Linked DNA regions of Homo sapiens: all the other regions are linked to region 1. The links are contacts of gene promoters, found by promoter capture Hi-C in blood cells and fetal thymus (Javierre and others, 2016). All regions are on one chromosome and are shown on one strand. Each heading gives the region's core, a stretch centred on a gene start or on the middle of the fragment in contact. The rest is flanking DNA. Distances are from core to core; before and after follow the strand shown.

Region 1 (2,562 bases), core at 32-2,531:
CAGGGTGTGCCGGGCCTTCCAGATGTGGGCCAGGGACTGCAGAGAGCCACTGCCTCAGCCCCTGGTGAGCCCTCCCTCCCCCTCCCCCTCCATCTGTGCTCCCTGAGGAAGAAACAGGGCCCCAGCTTTGGGTCTTAAGACTGTCTTCTCGGCTGGGTGTAGTGGCTCACGCCTGTAATCCCAGCACTTTGGGAGGCCAAGGCAGGTGTATCACAAGGTCAGGAGTTTGAGACCAGCCTGACCAACAGGGTGAAACCCTGTCTCTACTAAAAATACAAAAATTAGCCGGGCGTGGTGGTGCATGCCTGTAATCCCAGCTACTCAGGAGGCTGAGGCAGGAGAATTGCTTGAACCCGGGAGGCAGAGATTGCAGTGAGCCGAGATCGCGCCACTGCACTCCAGCCTGGGCAACAGAGCAAGACTCCATCTCAAAAAAAAAAAAAAAAAAAAAAAAGACTGTCTTCTCTCCCTCACTCTCATCCCTGCGGGAATCACCATCTTTCACCTTTCGGCTGCAGAGCTCCAAGAAAATGTAGATGTTGTCAGCGTCCTCAAAGTGGTGCGAAAAACGCACGATGTGGCGGTGCTGCAGGTCTCGGTGCAGCTCAATCTCATTTAGGATCTGCGATGAGGGCGCGGAGTCGTCATCCTTCCATGGTTCCCATGCCACCGTCCCCACCCCACCCCTCGCCCGCTGAGCCTGGACCCACCTTCTCGCGCTGATGCGGCTTGGCGACGCGGCTCTGCGGGATGACTTTGACAGCGTAGGCGCTGCCAGTCTCTGTGTCAGTGGCCTCGTAGCAGCGGGCGAAGCCCCCCTGTGAAGAGGGGGCATCAGGCTGGTTGTTCCAGGGGGGCCGAGTCTGGCCCGCGGGCGTCCCCGCGTTGGGGGTCAAGTGCCCACGCCCTGCTCGGCGCCAGAAAAGAGGCCGGCCGGGACCCCCACCTCCACCATCACCACCCCGCGGACGTCCCTCGGCCCACCTTGCCCAACAAGCGGCCTTTGAGGTAGGTGCGGCCGCTGCGCGGGTCCGTGATGAGGCGCCCGGGGTCTGACGTCGGTAGCCCGGCCAGCATCTCCAGCTCAGGTCCGCGCAAGGCACTCGGAGGCGGCCCGGGCCCGGCCGGGGGAGCGGGCGCGGCGGCCGCACGCTGGAAGGGGCGCGGAGACAGGAAACCGGCGGCAGGCTCCATGCGGCCGGCGCGTCGCAGCGCGGTCCCGGCTTCTCGGTTCCGCCCGGCCCCGGCCGCGCGTGGCGCTGCCTGGATTTGCTACGCTGCGCTGGCGCCCAGGGGAGCCCAGCGTTTTATCAATGAACGCCTGCCCCCTCCCCGGCGTCTGGTCACCGAGAGTCCCGCCCCCTTCCTAGCAGCGAGTCGAGGAGAGGCCACTCCCATTCCCGGCCTTACATCACCCAGAAGCTCCTCCCCCACCCAACGCACTGCCAGACCCCGCCTCCTCGCCGCGCCCCGGGGCGCAGCCCGGCAGCTAGTCACCATGCAGGTGCAACCAGGCCGCAGGGGCCAGCTGATCCCTGTCCGCCTCTCACCCCTCCTTGGCCACTGCGAGTCCCGCTCGTGGGGGCCTCTTTCTTTCCCCATCCTTCGGGATGTGTGCTGAAGTCCGAGTGGGGCCCGGGCATCTGGGGGCGTCTCCCCAGCAACTAGATAGATCAGCGTTCCAGCCAGCAGCGGAGAGGCAGGGGCGGCGCTCGCTTTTGCCCGGGCATGTTACCCGACACTCCCCTTTCAGTGTGCCGGACCGCGTGTGTCCCTCGCCCTCGCCCGGGGCCCGGCCCAGTGCTGCCCTCTTTAGGGCCTGGAAGGAAGGCACAGTCTCGCGCCTGGCTTGCCTGGCCCGAGGGCTGCCTTGCCAGGTTTAGGAGTCAAGCAGAGTCTGGAATTTCAAGGCTTTTACCATGCTCCAGGCCACATCTTCCGCTACCCACTTCTACACTCTTGAGGGGCAAATTTCGGGTTCCTCCGGGGTCCGCAATTCCCTTCCTCTGAAAATACCCCCGGGCCTGGGTCAGCAGCCAGAGGCCAGAAAGTGAATGGGAATTGGATTTTCTTTTTTCTTTCTTTCTTTCTTTTTTTTTTTTTTGAGACAGAGTTTCGCTCTTGTTGCCTAGGCTGGAGTGCAATGGCGCGATCTTGGCTCATCGCAAACTCTGCCTCCCAGGTTCAAGCGATTCTCCTGCCTCAGCCTCCCGAGCAGCTGGGATTACAGGCATGCGCCATCACACCCGGCTAATTTTGTATTTTTTTTTTTTTAAGTAGAGACGGGGTTTCTCCATGTTGGTCAGACTGGTCTGGAACTCCCAACCTCAGGTGATCTACCCGCTTCGGCGTCCCAAAGTGCTGGGATTACAGGCGTGAGCCACCTTGCCTGGCTGGGAATTGCATTTTCTCAAATGCTAGACACGGGCACTTGGGCAGCTAGTCTCTGGACCACGTGGACCCCTAGACCCCTGCGCAATGCCCACCCTTCCCAGGGCCAGAGACAGAGGCCCAGGACCACAGGCCTCCTGGCCTTGTCTCTCACCTCTCTGCCCTCCCTCT
Region 2 (2,562 bases), core at 46-2,545, 790 kb before region 1:
ATGAGATGGGCATGGTGGTACATGCCTGTAGTCCCAGCTACTCCAGAGACTGATATGGGAAGATTGCTTGAGCCCAGGAGATAGAGGCTGCAGTGAGCTATGATCATACCACTATACTCTAGCCTGGGTGAGAGAGTAAGACCTTGTTTCAAATAAATAAACAAACAAACCAGAAACCATAGGATATTGACAGATTCTACTCCATCTAATTCATTTCACAAAAGGTTAACTTAGCAAATATACATAGAATCTTAGTCAACAGGATAAAAAAGCCCAATGGGAATAGATTAATGGATTTAATATAAACACTCACAAACAAACAAACAAACAAACAAACACTTGACCACCTGCTACTGCTCATTCTTTTGTTTTTGAGACGGAGTCTCGCACTGTTGCCCAGGCTGGAGTGCAGTGGCGCGATCTCGATCTCGGCTCACTGCAAGCTCCGCCTCCCGGGTTCACGCCATTCTCCTGCGTCAGCTTCTCAAGTAGCTGGGACTACATTTTTTTTTTGTATTTTTAGTAGAGATGGGGTTTCACCGTGTTAGCCAGGATGGTCTCGATCTCCTGACCTCGTGATCTGCCCACCTCGGCCTCCCAAAGTGCTGGATTACAGGTGTGAGCCACCGCGCCCGGCCGCTCATTCTTAAGAGAAACAAAAAAACTATACTTAGAAAGTATGTTTTACCCATCGAATAGTCAAAGATAGGGTTAAGGAGAAATTGTACTCCCATACATTGCTAACAGAAATTCAAGGCTAGGCTCACAGCTATAATCCCTGCACTTTGGAAGGCAGAAGGACTGTTTGAGGCTAGGAGTTTGAGACCAGGCTAAGCAGCAAAATGAGACCCCTTCTCTAGTTCAAAAAATTAATTTTAAAAAAAGAAGTGTAGCCTGGGCACGGTGGCTAACGCCTATAATCCCAGAACTTTGGAAAGGCAAGGTGAGTGGATCACCTGAGGTCAGGAGTTCGAGACCAGCCTGGCCAACATGGTAAAACCTCATTTCTACTAAAAATACAAAAATTAGCCAGGTGTGGTGGCGGGCGCCTGTAATCCCAACTACTTGGGAGGCTGAGGCAGGAGAATTGCTTGAACCCTGGAGGTGGAGACTGCGGTGAGCCTAGATCGCACCAGTGCACTCCAGCCTGAGCAACGGAGTTAGACTCTGAATGACTACAGTCATGCGCAACCACGCCTGGCTGATTTTTGTATTTTTAGTAGAGACGGGGTTTTGCCATGTCAGCCAGGCTGGTCTCGAACTCCTGGCTTCAAGTGATATGCCCGTGTTGGCTTCCCACAGTGTTGGGATTACCACGTGAGCCACACCACCTGGCCCTTTTTTTTTTGAGATGGAGTCTTGCTCTGAGGCTAGAGTGCAGTGGCACAATCTCGACTCACTGCAACCTCTGCCTCCCGGTTTCAAGCGATTACAGGACCCTGCTACCCATGCTCGGCTAATTTTTGTAAACTGTAGTCTCAGCTACTTGGGAGGCTGATGCACAAGAATCGCTTGCACAGGGGAGGCAGAAGTTGCAGTAAGCCAAGATCTGGCCACTACACTCCAGCTTGGGCAAGACAACAAGACTCTCTCTCCAAAAAATTAATTATATATATATATATATATATATATATGAAAAAACTCAAGACAAACCTCATAGCCTAGAAATGTTGAATTAACAAAATGTATGTAATCAATGCATAAAAGATATGTAGGTACTAGTCTTCTTCACTACCATAAAATACAAATTATAAAAAGTTAAAATTCATCAAAACACACAGACCATACACGGCACCATCCACAGTTGAGATATGTAAATGAACAAAGATGCAGTATTAAATCATAACTGCAGCCGGGCACGGTGGCTCACGCCGAGACCGGCTGATCACCTGAGGTCAGGAGTTCGAGATCACCCTGGCCAACATGGCAAAACCCCAAAAAATTAGCCAGGTGTGGTGGTACACACCTGCAGTCCCAGCTACTTGGGAGGCTGAGGCAAGAGACTTGCTTGAATCCGGGAGGGCGGAGGTTGCAGTGAGCAGAGATTGTGCCACTGCACTCCAGCCTGGGTGACAAAACTCCCTCTCAAAAAAAAAACAACAAAAAAAAACCAACTAAGAACTAGTTAGAAAGCTAAGAATGACAGGATTAATTTAGCATGTAGATATACATCACCTTAAACAATACTGCTTTAATGGCACGAGGGGACAAAAGCCAACCTAAGACTTTTTGCAGACGACAAAACTGTGGTCCAATATCACTACTGAAGCAATGAAGCTGCTATCAAAGCCAATTCTAAGCCAGGCGAGGTGATGCATGCCTGTAGTCCCAGCTACCCAGAAGGCTGAGATGGAAGGATTGCTTGAGACTAGGAGTTGGGAATCCAGCCTGGGCAACATAGTAAGATCCTCATCTCCTAAATTTAAAAAACCTGAACTGAGGTTTATTTCTCATTCCATTTTTTTTCTTTCTACTGGTTTGGAAGTTATATTTATTCTTTCAATGGTCATCCTCGAATTATAATGTACATTCTTACCTAAAGTCTAAATTCAAGTCATTTTC
Region 3 (2,562 bases), core at 30-2,529, 720 kb before region 1:
AGAGGATGGTCGTGTAACTGAATCAGCCTCCCAAGATGAACTTTCCCTCTGGCGTAAGTTTAGGAGTCCTGATATTTTATTTTCCTTTACAACAGAAAGCAGCAACCCTGTAATTAAAGAGAACAATGAAGGAAGCTATCTAAGCCATGAGGGTTACTGAGGATCTGCGCTGGGGTTAAGGCTGCGAACTTAAGAAATATTTGGATAGACAGTTCTCATGGCTTGGTGTGGTTAGACGTGGTCCTCCGTGGGCAGCAGCTAAGACGCTTACTCCAGTTTGGGCATTGAGGGCACAGTGCGTAGTGGTCCTGGAAGTAAAGAGAATCCTGGTTTTCCGCAGAGATCTAGGATTAACCTAAGCGTTCGGGTTCGGGAGCGGCCACAAGGGCGCCTCACTCCAACCTCAGCCATCCGCAACAGGGTGGGGTATTAGTATTTTTCCGCACCCGCCCCAACGAGGGAAAGCGCCGAGTCATTCCGGCGGGGCGCGCCGGGCGGGGCTCGGGCCACATCCCCCTCCTCTCTCTCCTCCTCCGGCACCCCCGTCCGTTCCGACTCTCGCGAGATCCCTACTGGCTATAAAGGCAGCGCCCCGGAGAGCTCTTGCGCGTCTTGTTCTTGCCTGGTGTCGGTGGTTAGTTTCTGCGACTTGTGTTGGGACTGGTGAGTGTGGGCAGTGCGGCCCCTGCGGAGTGAGGCGCGGCGCGCCCTTCTTGCCTGTTGCCTCTTCCTCCTCCTGTCCGGGGCCCGCCCGCGCTCGGGTGGGGGTGCTGTGATGCGTGAGGCAGCCGGGGGAGGCCCGGAGTCCGAGACTGCTTGAGCGCTGCGCACACCCCTCTCGTGGGCCCCCCACGTAGGTGCGGGAACCTGGTTGAACCCCAAGGCAAGCGTGGACTCGAGTCGAGTCTTCCCCCGGCAACTCGAGCACGTGGCGCGGCGTCTGGGCGGGCTGGTGGTGGGGGTCTCCGAGACTAGCCTCCTGCCGGACGGGGTGGGTTCGGGAAGCTTCTGGAATGGACCTGTATCCAGACTCGTGGCTGTAGAAGACAGCCTCTATGTATTTGGCTGTTCCGGGTCCTGAGCCTTGACTAGCTGCGGAGCTTCGGGTACCCTTTCCCCGTCTTTATTTTCCTGTACGTGGAATGGAGTTAGCGATGAGCCCAAATGTCCCCGCTGAAGCACTCTCTCTGCTGGTGCTTTCTCCAGTGCTGGGGAGGGACAGGGGGCACCTGAAGTGGGGTTTAGGGATGTGGCCCTCTACGCTGGGCAGATCCCCTGAAGGGGCCCGGTGGCGGCCTGAATCCCAGCAGCCTTTACCCCGAATTGGTTGGGTTTTGTACTTGGGGGCCACTTGGGAAAGAAGGATTGGACGAGAAGGCCATTTGGGGGCACCAAGTTGCAGCATGCCTTAGTTTTTGGTTTTTGTTTTTTGTCGTTAAAGGTGTTAAGGACTTTTTAAAAAACAGTTAAAAGTTTGCTAAGATCCATGCTTACAAAATTTCTTTTGCTTGTGGTATTGTGAACTAAGAACTTTGGGACTTGGAAAAGCTTTCAGACCGCGGCTTAGTGGGTTAAATCTCTGTTTTTTGAGCTAGAGTCTCGCTCTGTCGGCCAGGCTGGAGTGCAGTGGCGCGGTCTCGGCTTACTGCAACCCCTGTCTCCCGAATTCAAGCAATTCTTCTGCCTCAGCCTTAGGAGTAGCTGGGATTACAGGCTTGTGCCACCAAGCCCCGGCTAATTTTTGTATTTTTTTTTTTTTTTTTTTTTTGAGACGGAGTCTCGCTCTGTCGCCCAGGCTGGAGTGCAGTGGCTGGATCTCGGCTCACTGCAGCCTCCGCCTCCCGGGTTCACGCCATTCTCCTGCCTCAGCCTCCCGAGTAGCTGGGACTGCAGGCGCGTGCCACCACCCCCGGCTAATTTTTTGTATTTTTGTTAGAGACGGGGTTTCACTATGATGGCCAGGCTGGTCTCGAACTTCTGACCTCAGGTGATCTGCCTGCCTCGGCCTCCCAAAGTGCTGGGATTACAGGCTTGAGCCACAGCGCTTGGCCAAGATCTCAATACTAATCTTGGTGTTGATCTGGGTGAATCCAGTGCAACCTTCCTTTTCAGCAGTAAATTGATTCTTATACTTGTTTTCGCCCTGGGATATTAGCCCCAAAGTCAGGAACCCACCTTCACAAATGGTGAAGGGAATTCTAGGGCTTACACAATACCTAAAGATTTGAAATTAAGCAGATGCCAATCAATATCTTGGTCTTGCCTCTTTTTTTTTTTTTTTTTTTTGGAGACAGAGTCTCACTCTGTTGCCCAGGCTGGAGTGCAGTGGCGCGATCTCAGCTTACTGCAACCTCTGCCTCCCGGGTTCAAGTGATTCTCCTGCTTCAGCCTCCTGAGTAGTTGCGATTACAGGCATGCACCACCACGCCCGACTAATTTTTGTGTTTCTAGTAGAGACGGGGTTTCACCATGTTGGCCAGACTGGTCTCGAACTCCTGACCCGGTGATCCGCCCGCCTGAGCCTCTCAAAGTGCTGGGATTACAGGTGTGAGACACTGCGCC
Region 4 (2,562 bases), core at 31-2,530, 560 kb before region 1:
GTTTGACATTGATACTGGTTTCTGACAGGTTTCTGACTTACTGATGGCACATTGAGTCATTTAAGATTCTGAAATCTTTTTCCATTGCTGTCTGAACCTTTCAATTTGGAATCTCTGAGATGTCTTTGACTCTTTTTCCTTATTTCTCATATCTATCACTCAGTTGCTAAAAAGCTTTATATTCTGACTATAGCCAACTTTTTCTTGCCCATAAATAGCACTGTTAGTTAGATGTTTGGTCACCTCTCATCTGGCTGTTGCAGTACCCTCCAAAACTGCCTCTAATTCCTTCTCTATCCTGCTACCAGAATGATCTTTCTAAAATGCAGTTTGGGTCATGTATTAGTTTCTTAGAGCTGCCATAGCAAAGCACTACAATGTGGGTGACATAGCAGAAACTTATTATCTCAGAGTTCTGAAGGCTGGAAGTCCAAAATCAAAGTGTTGGTAGGGCCTTGTTCTCTCTGAAGGCTCTACGGGAAGATCCTTCTTGCCTTTTCCTAGCTTCTGGTAGGTTTTTGGTGTTCTTTGGCTTGTAGATGTCTCAGTCCAATTTCTGCCTCTATCTTAACATGACATTTTCCCTGTGTGCCTATATCTCTTGCCACTCTTTTTATAAGGATTCCAGTCGTATTGGATTAAGGGCCTGCCCTACTCCAATGTGACCTCATCTTAACTTGATTACATTGGCAAAGACCCTATTTCCAAATAAGGTCACATTTATAGTTACCTTACCAGGGTTTAGGACTTGCATGCATCTTTTGGGGGGATGTAATTCAACCCCCATTAGATCATATTATACCTTTACCTATAAACCTTCAGTGGCCCCTGTGGTCTGCTGAATTAACTGTAGATGCTTCATCTTGGTATTCCAGAACTTCTGCACTAATAACAAATATAATAATAATAATAGAAATAGTCATAACTGACATATTGAGCACTTTCCTTGACATTATTCTTAGCATTTTACATGTATCAACTTACTGAATCTTCACAACAACTCTGTGGGTTAGGCACTATTATTATTCCCATTTTATAGATGTGTATTAAACAAACTGAGTAACCAACTCAGGGCTCTACAACTATTATAGTCTGAGATGAGATTCAATCCTAGCCAGCCTAACTGCAGTCACCACTATATTATACTGCCCATCTTAACTTTTTAGCTTCATACTTTCTCCCCTACTTATACAGAAAAAAAAAAAAGAATAATTACTAATCTCTGTGCTTTGTTATCTTTGTGTTCCTTTTGCATAGACTGTCTTTCTTATCCCCAACCCTGCCTATGGGTTACCATGAAATGGAATTAAATCCTCAACAATGAGTGAATATTAGCCAGGCCTAGGTGGGGAAAGGGGAAGGATATTAGAGGTAAAGGGACCAGCAATGTGTACAAATGTGCAGGTGAGCAGGAGTCAGACTTTTATAAGCAGGAGTGAAAGGCTTTGTGTGCCTTTCTAAGGATTGTGGGTTTTATCCTACAAGTAATAGCACATCACTGAATAATTTTAACAGGAGAGTGGCTTCAGGTTGGCATTTCAGAAAGATTGTCTTGGCTATATTGTGGAAAATGGATTGGAATGAGGGCTAAATCTTTTCAAGATGCAAAAGGGGGCAAGAAAACAGGTTAGAAAGCTAATGGAATAACCTAAGGGAGGCGTGAGAATGATAAGTTATTGATAGTGGGTTCTACCTGTTGTAAAAAATGAAAATAAATTTTAAAAAGATACTGTTAAATGGGAGAATGAGTTGTGTACTATGAGCTAAACACCAAACTGGACTGACTTTGTATTTAGACCTTATCTCTTTAATTACTCCTTGCCTTTGAACAAACACCAAATCTTGCTGATTCTACCTCTAATGTCTCTGAGATAATAACCTCCTTTCCATTCTTGCTGCCATTGTCTTATTCAGGCCTTGGTTATCCTAACTCTTCTCCCAGCCTCAGTTCCTGACCTTTTCATACAATTTTTATACTACTGTTAGAATATTTCTATGTAGCATATCTGATCATGTTATTCTCCTGTGTGAAAAAAAAAAAGTGTTAGTTGATTGTATGGCATCCCTACTAGACCATCTAGGCTAGACTAGTCTCTGTGGGCAGAGACTGGCCCCATTTATCTTTGTGTTTCACATTGTAGGTTTTCAGTGTTTGGGTAGGTGAACAGAAGGATGGATGAATCTTTCTCAGTACCATGTTGCTAATTAGATGGTAGCAAATTATCTCTGCTAGTTAGATGACAGCACAGTTATCTTCTTTGGGTAAATGCCCTAACTCCTGGCCAGTTGGGTAGATTTTTCAAAAAGGAATAATAATTCTTAGAGTTGATATTTTCTCCAGACCTTCTCTGAATGCCTTTGAACCACTGTTCAGAGATAAGCTTATTTGGTTGCAGGTATCAGTACACTGGTAATTCAAATTTTTTTAAAACTACCATTTTGTCTTATTGTTCTGAATAGTTATAATTGGTTGAAACTACTGTAGCTGACTAGAATCAGCAAGAATTGGGAACTGGAGTCCTGGGTGCATTTACCTCAGAGAGAGGTACATATTCCCTAGAG
Region 5 (2,562 bases), core at 39-2,538, 540 kb before region 1:
TATTCAGAGCTCTGGACAAAGGAAAGAAAGAAGTTGTTTTGTATTATCTGGTCCTCAACCTGTAGGGTAGACCCATCACTCCTTGCGTTAGGTGTTGATGGAACTCTGGTCCGGTTTTATTGTTGGACTGTGGATCCAACTGGTCCTGAGGCATATGAGAAAGGCTCTTCTTGGCCTTCATGTATGTAGCTCTGGGGCTGGACCTTACCTGTTAGGATCAAGGGGTAGGTGGGCTTTGTTCAGATACCTCCCAGAAACACATTAGGAGCAGAACTCAAGAACAGAATAAACTAATATGAGCATACTTTTGGAAGGTTCTGTGACAAGGTGATAAGACAAACACTAAGACAGGGAGGGTAGTAGACAGTAGTGTTTTCCCTGACCTGAACTGTAGGGATCACCTTCATTGTCTGGGGCCTTTAGAAAAGGTCTCTCAGCTGCACATCTGAATCTTCAAAGATGCCAGAAATAGACTCAAATGCCATCTTTGGGGTGGGAGATGGAGGGCAGAGCTCATGGCTGTTGTGGATACCTACAGATGGATCCCAAACTGCGCCCATCTTTTGTGGAGATTGGGAAGACCCTGGAGGAAATTCTGAGCCGCCTACAGGAAGAAGAGCAGGAGAGGGATAGGAAGCTGCAGCCCACAGCCAGGGGTAAGAGATTAGACCAGGGAGCCCAACCTAACCCTAAGGGAGGAAATTCGGATGTGGGGCCTTCTCCTCTTAGGGTTGTGATTGCCAGGATCCCAGGTCCAGAAACAAATGGGAGGGGAAGGAGATGATGCAGAAAGTACTGGCCTTTTTAAGAGCTGTGGCTTGGCATACTGCTTCCCCTCTCTGAGTCTGTTTCTTCATTGGTAAAACAGGGCCATGGTATCAGCTTTGCTTTCATGAGTGAAAACATTCTGTGGTAAAATGCTGCTTGTATTTGTTATGACTAGTGAGAGTAACCCAGACTTGATTATTCTTCAGGACTCTTGGAGAAAGCACCTGGGGTGAAGCGACTAAGCTCACTGGATGACAAGATCCCCCACAAGTCACCATGCCCAAGACGTACCATCTGGCTGTCTCGAAGCCAGTCAGATATCTTTTCCCGTAAGCCCCCACGTACAGTGAGTGTCTTGGACCCATACTACCGGCCACGAGATGGTGCTGCCCGCACCCCCAAAGTCAACCCTTTTAGTGCTCGCCAGGACCTCATGGGGGGCAAGATCAAGTTTTTTGACCTGCCCAGCAAGTCTGTCATCTCTCTGGTATTTGACCTGGATGCACCAGGGCCCGGAACTATGCCCCTGGCTGACTGGCAGGAGCCCCTGGCCCCACCTATTCGCCGGTGGCGTTCCTTGCCTGGTTCGCCTGAGTTCTTGCATCAAGAGGCTTGTCCATTTGTGGGCCGGGAAGAATCGCTATCTGATGGGCCCCCACCACGCCTAAGTAGTCTCAAGTACAGAGTTAAAGAGATCCCACCATTCCGGGCATCTGCCCTACCAGCTGCTCAAGCCCATGAGGCTATGGACTGCTCCATTCTCCAGGAAGAAAATGGTTTTGGGTCCAGGCCCCAGGGGACCAGTCCATGCCCTGCGGGTGCTTCTGAGGAGATGGAGGTAGAAGAAAGGCCAGCAGGCTCAACTCCAGCCACCTTCTCCACCTCAGGCATAGGCCTGCAAACCCAGGGAAAGCAGGATGGGTGAGGGGGTTTAGTCCCTGCCTCACCTTGGGGATGGACCTTCAGCTGAAACCATATGGCCCCCTAGGTGCACAGCCTTGATTCTTCCCTGGAGCCTACAGAGCAGGCAGGCTAGGCCAAGCCAGGCTCAACTTCTGGGCTCCCAGTGCCCATTGGCTGTGTATGACGGGAGGCAGCAGTGAGAGGCCTTCCTAGTTAGGGCCAACAGCTGATACCAAGCCTCTGAAATCCAGCAAGGAGGTCTGCCTCCCACCAGACCCTCTCCAGTGTACTTCCCCAGATAGGACCAGAGGATGTCTAGTTCTAGGCTGAGCTGGCAGGCAGCTATTACCCCGGTTCTTTCCCCACCCCAGGTCTGTCTCTTGCCTTTTCTTGGGGCATATAAGCTACTGAGTGGAACATGGAGCTGATCAAGAGGCCGTAATGGTCATGGCTGTTTCCCAGACCTGAATATTGGGGTGCTTCTTGCCAGTATTCTAAGACATTTGAGTAATTGCTGTTTGCACTTACTGCATGGTCAGACCACGTCACTACATTTCTATGCAAGGGGACAGCAAGGCAGCGTGGTGGTCATGGCTCTTAGCTAACCTATTCAAAGACCTTTTCCTGTTGATTAATCTATTTTCATATTTATAAAGGAGTCTTAATGTTCTGCCCCATAAGACTTTCAACCTTGTGGTTGGGAGTGGGGCTGGTTTTGTAGGCCCTAGGGCCTGCTTCTATGTATTTATCAACATGTGATACATTCAATTGGTTAAATGGTTTATACAGGGACTGATTTGCTTCCCTTCCTGCCATGGCTGGAGCTTTGGGAACAGTCTGTCCTTACAGAGCTGCAATAAGAAATAACCAAAGATGAAGCTGGTCAAATAT
Region 6 (2,562 bases), core at 32-2,531, 530 kb before region 1:
TCTGAATCAGCTCCAGGAAGAAAGTGTCCTCAGTAAAAAGGGACTTGGTGAAGACCTGAAGCAGAAACTTGCCTTTATCACCATCTAGCAGGATCCCCTGTCGAGCAAGCAGATGAGGCTCGTGCCCTGCAGCTCGGATCTGCCTCTCCTTTCCTGGCTGCTGGTAGTATGCCCCAGGGGGAGCCAGGAACTGGCCTCCAGCAGTTGCCACCCCCTCAGTGGCCTCCACAATGTTAGGCGTATACAGCCCCACGTGCTGCAGGCCTGGCCCCTTGTGCCGGGCCAGGAACTGCTCCACCTGGTCCTGTCGTGTCGTCGCCCCCGGAAGGGACTCAGCCAGAACAAGAGTGGGGACAATGCTGCCCGGCTGGGCCTGCAGGGCTGTAAGCCTCAGTCCCCCAAGCCCAAACCCTGCTGTCATTTCGAGGCCCAGCTCGGGATCCTCACCTGGGCTCAGCGGCAAGTGGCAAAAGCCCAGGCAGTCGTGGAACCAGCGCAAAAGTGTGGGGGAGCTGCCGGGGGTGCAGGCCAAGGTCAGGTGGTCCACGCGGCTGACCCACCCGGGGCCAGGCGCAGAGGACACGGGCCTGAAGCCGGGTAGGAAGGGTCCGCGGTAGCCAGCGCGCTCCAGCAAGGTCAGGCTGAGGATGCCGGCAGGCGAGCTGACCACGGCGTAAGTGGCGGCACCCTGCGCGTCCCGCACGCGAACGGGAGGGACAGGCACGCTGCAGCCCAGCGCTGCCAGCTCCCGGGTTGCAGCGCCGGCGTCCGCCACGTCGAAGCACAGGTTTGTGGCGCTGGGCACGGCGTGACGCGGATCCAGGCCGTACAGCGGCTCTCCAGACCCTGCGCCCTCGTTCACCAAAAAGACCGCGTCGCCGCTGCGCAGGGCTAGCTGCCGCCAGCCGTCCACCTCCCGCGAAGCCAGGGGCTGGAAGCCGAAGAGGCGCTGCAGGTTCCGGGCTAGGGGCTGCCCGGCGGGCACGTGGAAGGCGATGTGGCACAAACGAAGGGCGGGCGCGGCCATGGCGCTCTGGACGGCGACCTAGACTTGTCCTTCTGGGGCCGCTTACTTGTGGTTGGGGACTTCGGGGCTCTCAGTCCTGGGCTGATCGTCCGGAGTTGGGGAGTCCGGCTCACCCCGCAGAGCGCGTTCCTCGCTTTCTTCCGGAAAGAAGTCACCCGCCGACCCCTGAGAGCTCGCGGTTCTCCCTGCAGCGCCACCCCAGCCAGGAGCAGCGTCTGGACCACCGGGTCTCAGTGAGCCGAGCTGCTGGTTGTGAGAACCACGCGGTGCCTGTGCTCGCGCCAAGCAGGAGAAAGAGGGCGGAGCCCGTGACTCCGCCTTTGACTCCCCACCCCCTCCCCCACACCCTGTCGCCTCGGATACTGCGGGGTCGCCGCGCTGCTCTTTCCCCGGGCCTCACGCCTGGTCACATCCTTGGGCACTGAGCCTCCCTTCCCCAGCCCAGGAACTCACAATGGCTGCCTTCACTCGGCGCCAGGCACTGGGCTCCCACTCATCCCCCCAACCTCACAGCGAAGGGACTCAGCCCGGGTTCAGGGAAAGAGTTGGAATTCTCTCTCCACAAGCACGGAATTTTTTAGCACTTTCATGTTTTTTCTTTAAGTTCTGGAGTTTGCCTCTAAGTCTTAATGTTCCCTGGAATACACACACACACACACACACACACACACACACGTTTATATGTTTTGAGACAGGGTCTCACTCTGTCACCCAGGCTGGAGTGGCACAATCACAGCTCACTGCAGCCTCCACCTCCTGGGTTCAGGCGATTTTCCTTGCCTCAGTGCACAAATAGCTGGGACCACAGGCGGACGCCACCACACCCAGCTAATTAAAAATAATTTTTTTTTTTAGAAATGGGGTCTTGCTATATTGCCCAAGCTGGTTTTAAACCCCTGGGCTCAAGCCATCTTTCCACCTCAGCCTCCCAAAGTGTTGGGCAATCTCTCAACCAGTCCTGTCTCTTTCTTCAATCACCCTTCTGTCAACATCATTTAACCCCTTGTCCCAAGCAAGATTTGGAGGAAAAATCTGACGGTTCGGGATCTGAAAGGAACAGCTGCCTGGCTGTCATTCCCCTTCCCCATCCTTTGAGGACTGGAACACAGGCCCTCCTTGCTCTTTGCAGCTTCCTGACTTGGCATTGAGCCAGAGATTTCTGTGGTGGGGGCACTTCTGGCTCTGAAACCCAGAATTGTGTGAGATGACTGGATTGAGGAATTTGTAGTCTTCTGGAACTTCAACTGAGTGGCCCTTGAAGGGTTAGGGAAGGGCATCCAAGAAGGGCAAAGGGCATAAGCAAAAACTCAGTAAGAGTGTGAGCCAGACTCTTAGAGGAGCAATGGGCCATGCTGTTAGGGAGGCATTTAGGATGAATGCCACAGTCCAAGGCATCACAAGAAATTTTTTTGTCAGGCAGCCTGATCTACTGGGTTTCATTGGCAAGAGGGAGAAGGATGTCATAGGGGACAGGGGCTAGCTGGATGTCATGGTGTTCAGGCCTGCAGGCAGGAGGGCAGTACCCAGGAGCTGGT

Evidence for each region. The method cuts DNA at HindIII sites, captures the fragments that hold promoters and counts their contacts. A CHiCAGO score of 5 or more calls a contact.
Region 2: a fragment that was not itself captured here is called in contact with the fragment with the promoter of PLK3 in region 1 in 3 of 17 cell types (fetal thymus, total CD4 T cells and naive CD4 T cells); the score reaches 7.4 in fetal thymus.
Region 3: a contact is called between a fragment that was not itself captured here and the fragment with the promoter of PLK3 in region 1, in 10 of 17 cell types (fetal thymus, naive CD4 T cells, erythroblasts and 7 more). The highest score is 13.4, in fetal thymus.
Region 4: a contact is called between a fragment that was not itself captured here and the fragment with the promoter of PLK3 in region 1, in 1 of 17 cell types (total B cells). The highest score is 5.6, in total B cells.
Region 5: a contact is called between a fragment that was not itself captured here and the fragment with the promoter of PLK3 in region 1, in 9 of 17 cell types (megakaryocytes, naive CD4 T cells, total CD4 T cells and 6 more). The highest score is 9.0, in megakaryocytes.
Region 6: the fragment with the promoter of HPDL here is called in contact with the fragment with the promoter of PLK3 in region 1 in 1 of 17 cell types (erythroblasts); the score reaches 5.3 in erythroblasts.

The regions. Positions count from the first base shown.
Region 1 is chr1:44,799,096-44,801,657 of GRCh38, reverse strand. PLK3 (polo like kinase 3) reads right to left here and starts at 1,281. Exons shown (of 15, transcript NM_004073.4): 1 at 985-1,281; 2 at 711-818; 3 at 506-622; 4 at 1-36. The coding sequence starts at 1,194. RefSeq lists enhancers at 605-654, 1,425-1,814, 1,865-1,924, 1,609-2,277 and a silencer at 1,045-1,324. The HindIII fragment of the contact is 10,835 bases long and covers 1-2,562 here.
Region 2 is chr1:45,586,734-45,589,295 of GRCh38, reverse strand. All of the region lies in intron 1 of NASP (nuclear autoantigenic sperm protein), which reads right to left. Among named protein-coding and RNA genes, the nearest start is that of NASP, 4.0 kb to the right of the region's middle. RefSeq lists enhancers at 1-467, 468-968. The HindIII fragment of the contact is 7,555 bases long and covers 1-2,562 here.
Region 3 is chr1:45,519,930-45,522,491 of GRCh38, reverse strand. PRDX1 (peroxiredoxin 1) reads left to right here and starts at 608. Exons shown (of 6, transcript NM_181697.3): 1 at 608-663. RefSeq lists an enhancer at 130-209 and a silencer at 1,252-1,414. The HindIII fragment of the contact is 543 bases long and covers 1,008-1,550 here.
Region 4 is chr1:45,362,368-45,364,929 of GRCh38, reverse strand. All of the region lies in intron 4 of TESK2 (testis associated actin remodelling kinase 2), which reads left to right. Among named protein-coding and RNA genes, the nearest start is that of TOE1, 23 kb to the right of the region's middle. The HindIII fragment of the contact is 2,207 bases long and covers 177-2,383 here.
Region 5 is chr1:45,343,971-45,346,532 of GRCh38, reverse strand. It overlaps TESK2 (testis associated actin remodelling kinase 2), which reads left to right. Exons shown (of 11, transcript NM_007170.3): 10 at 539-656; 11 at 975-2,562. The coding sequence ends at 1,693. TOE1 (target of EGR1, exonuclease) reads right to left here. Exons shown (of 8, transcript NM_025077.4): 8 at 2,560-2,562. Among named protein-coding and RNA genes, the nearest start is that of TOE1, 5.1 kb to the right of the region's middle. The HindIII fragment of the contact is 6,722 bases long and covers 1-2,562 here.
Region 6 is chr1:45,325,614-45,328,175 of GRCh38, reverse strand. It overlaps HPDL (4-hydroxyphenylpyruvate dioxygenase like), which reads right to left and starts at 1,281. Exons shown (of 1, transcript NM_032756.4): 1 at 1-1,281. The coding sequence starts at 1,027. RefSeq lists enhancers at 70-179, 940-1,189, 1,200-1,249. The HindIII fragment of the contact is 11,997 bases long and covers 1-2,562 here.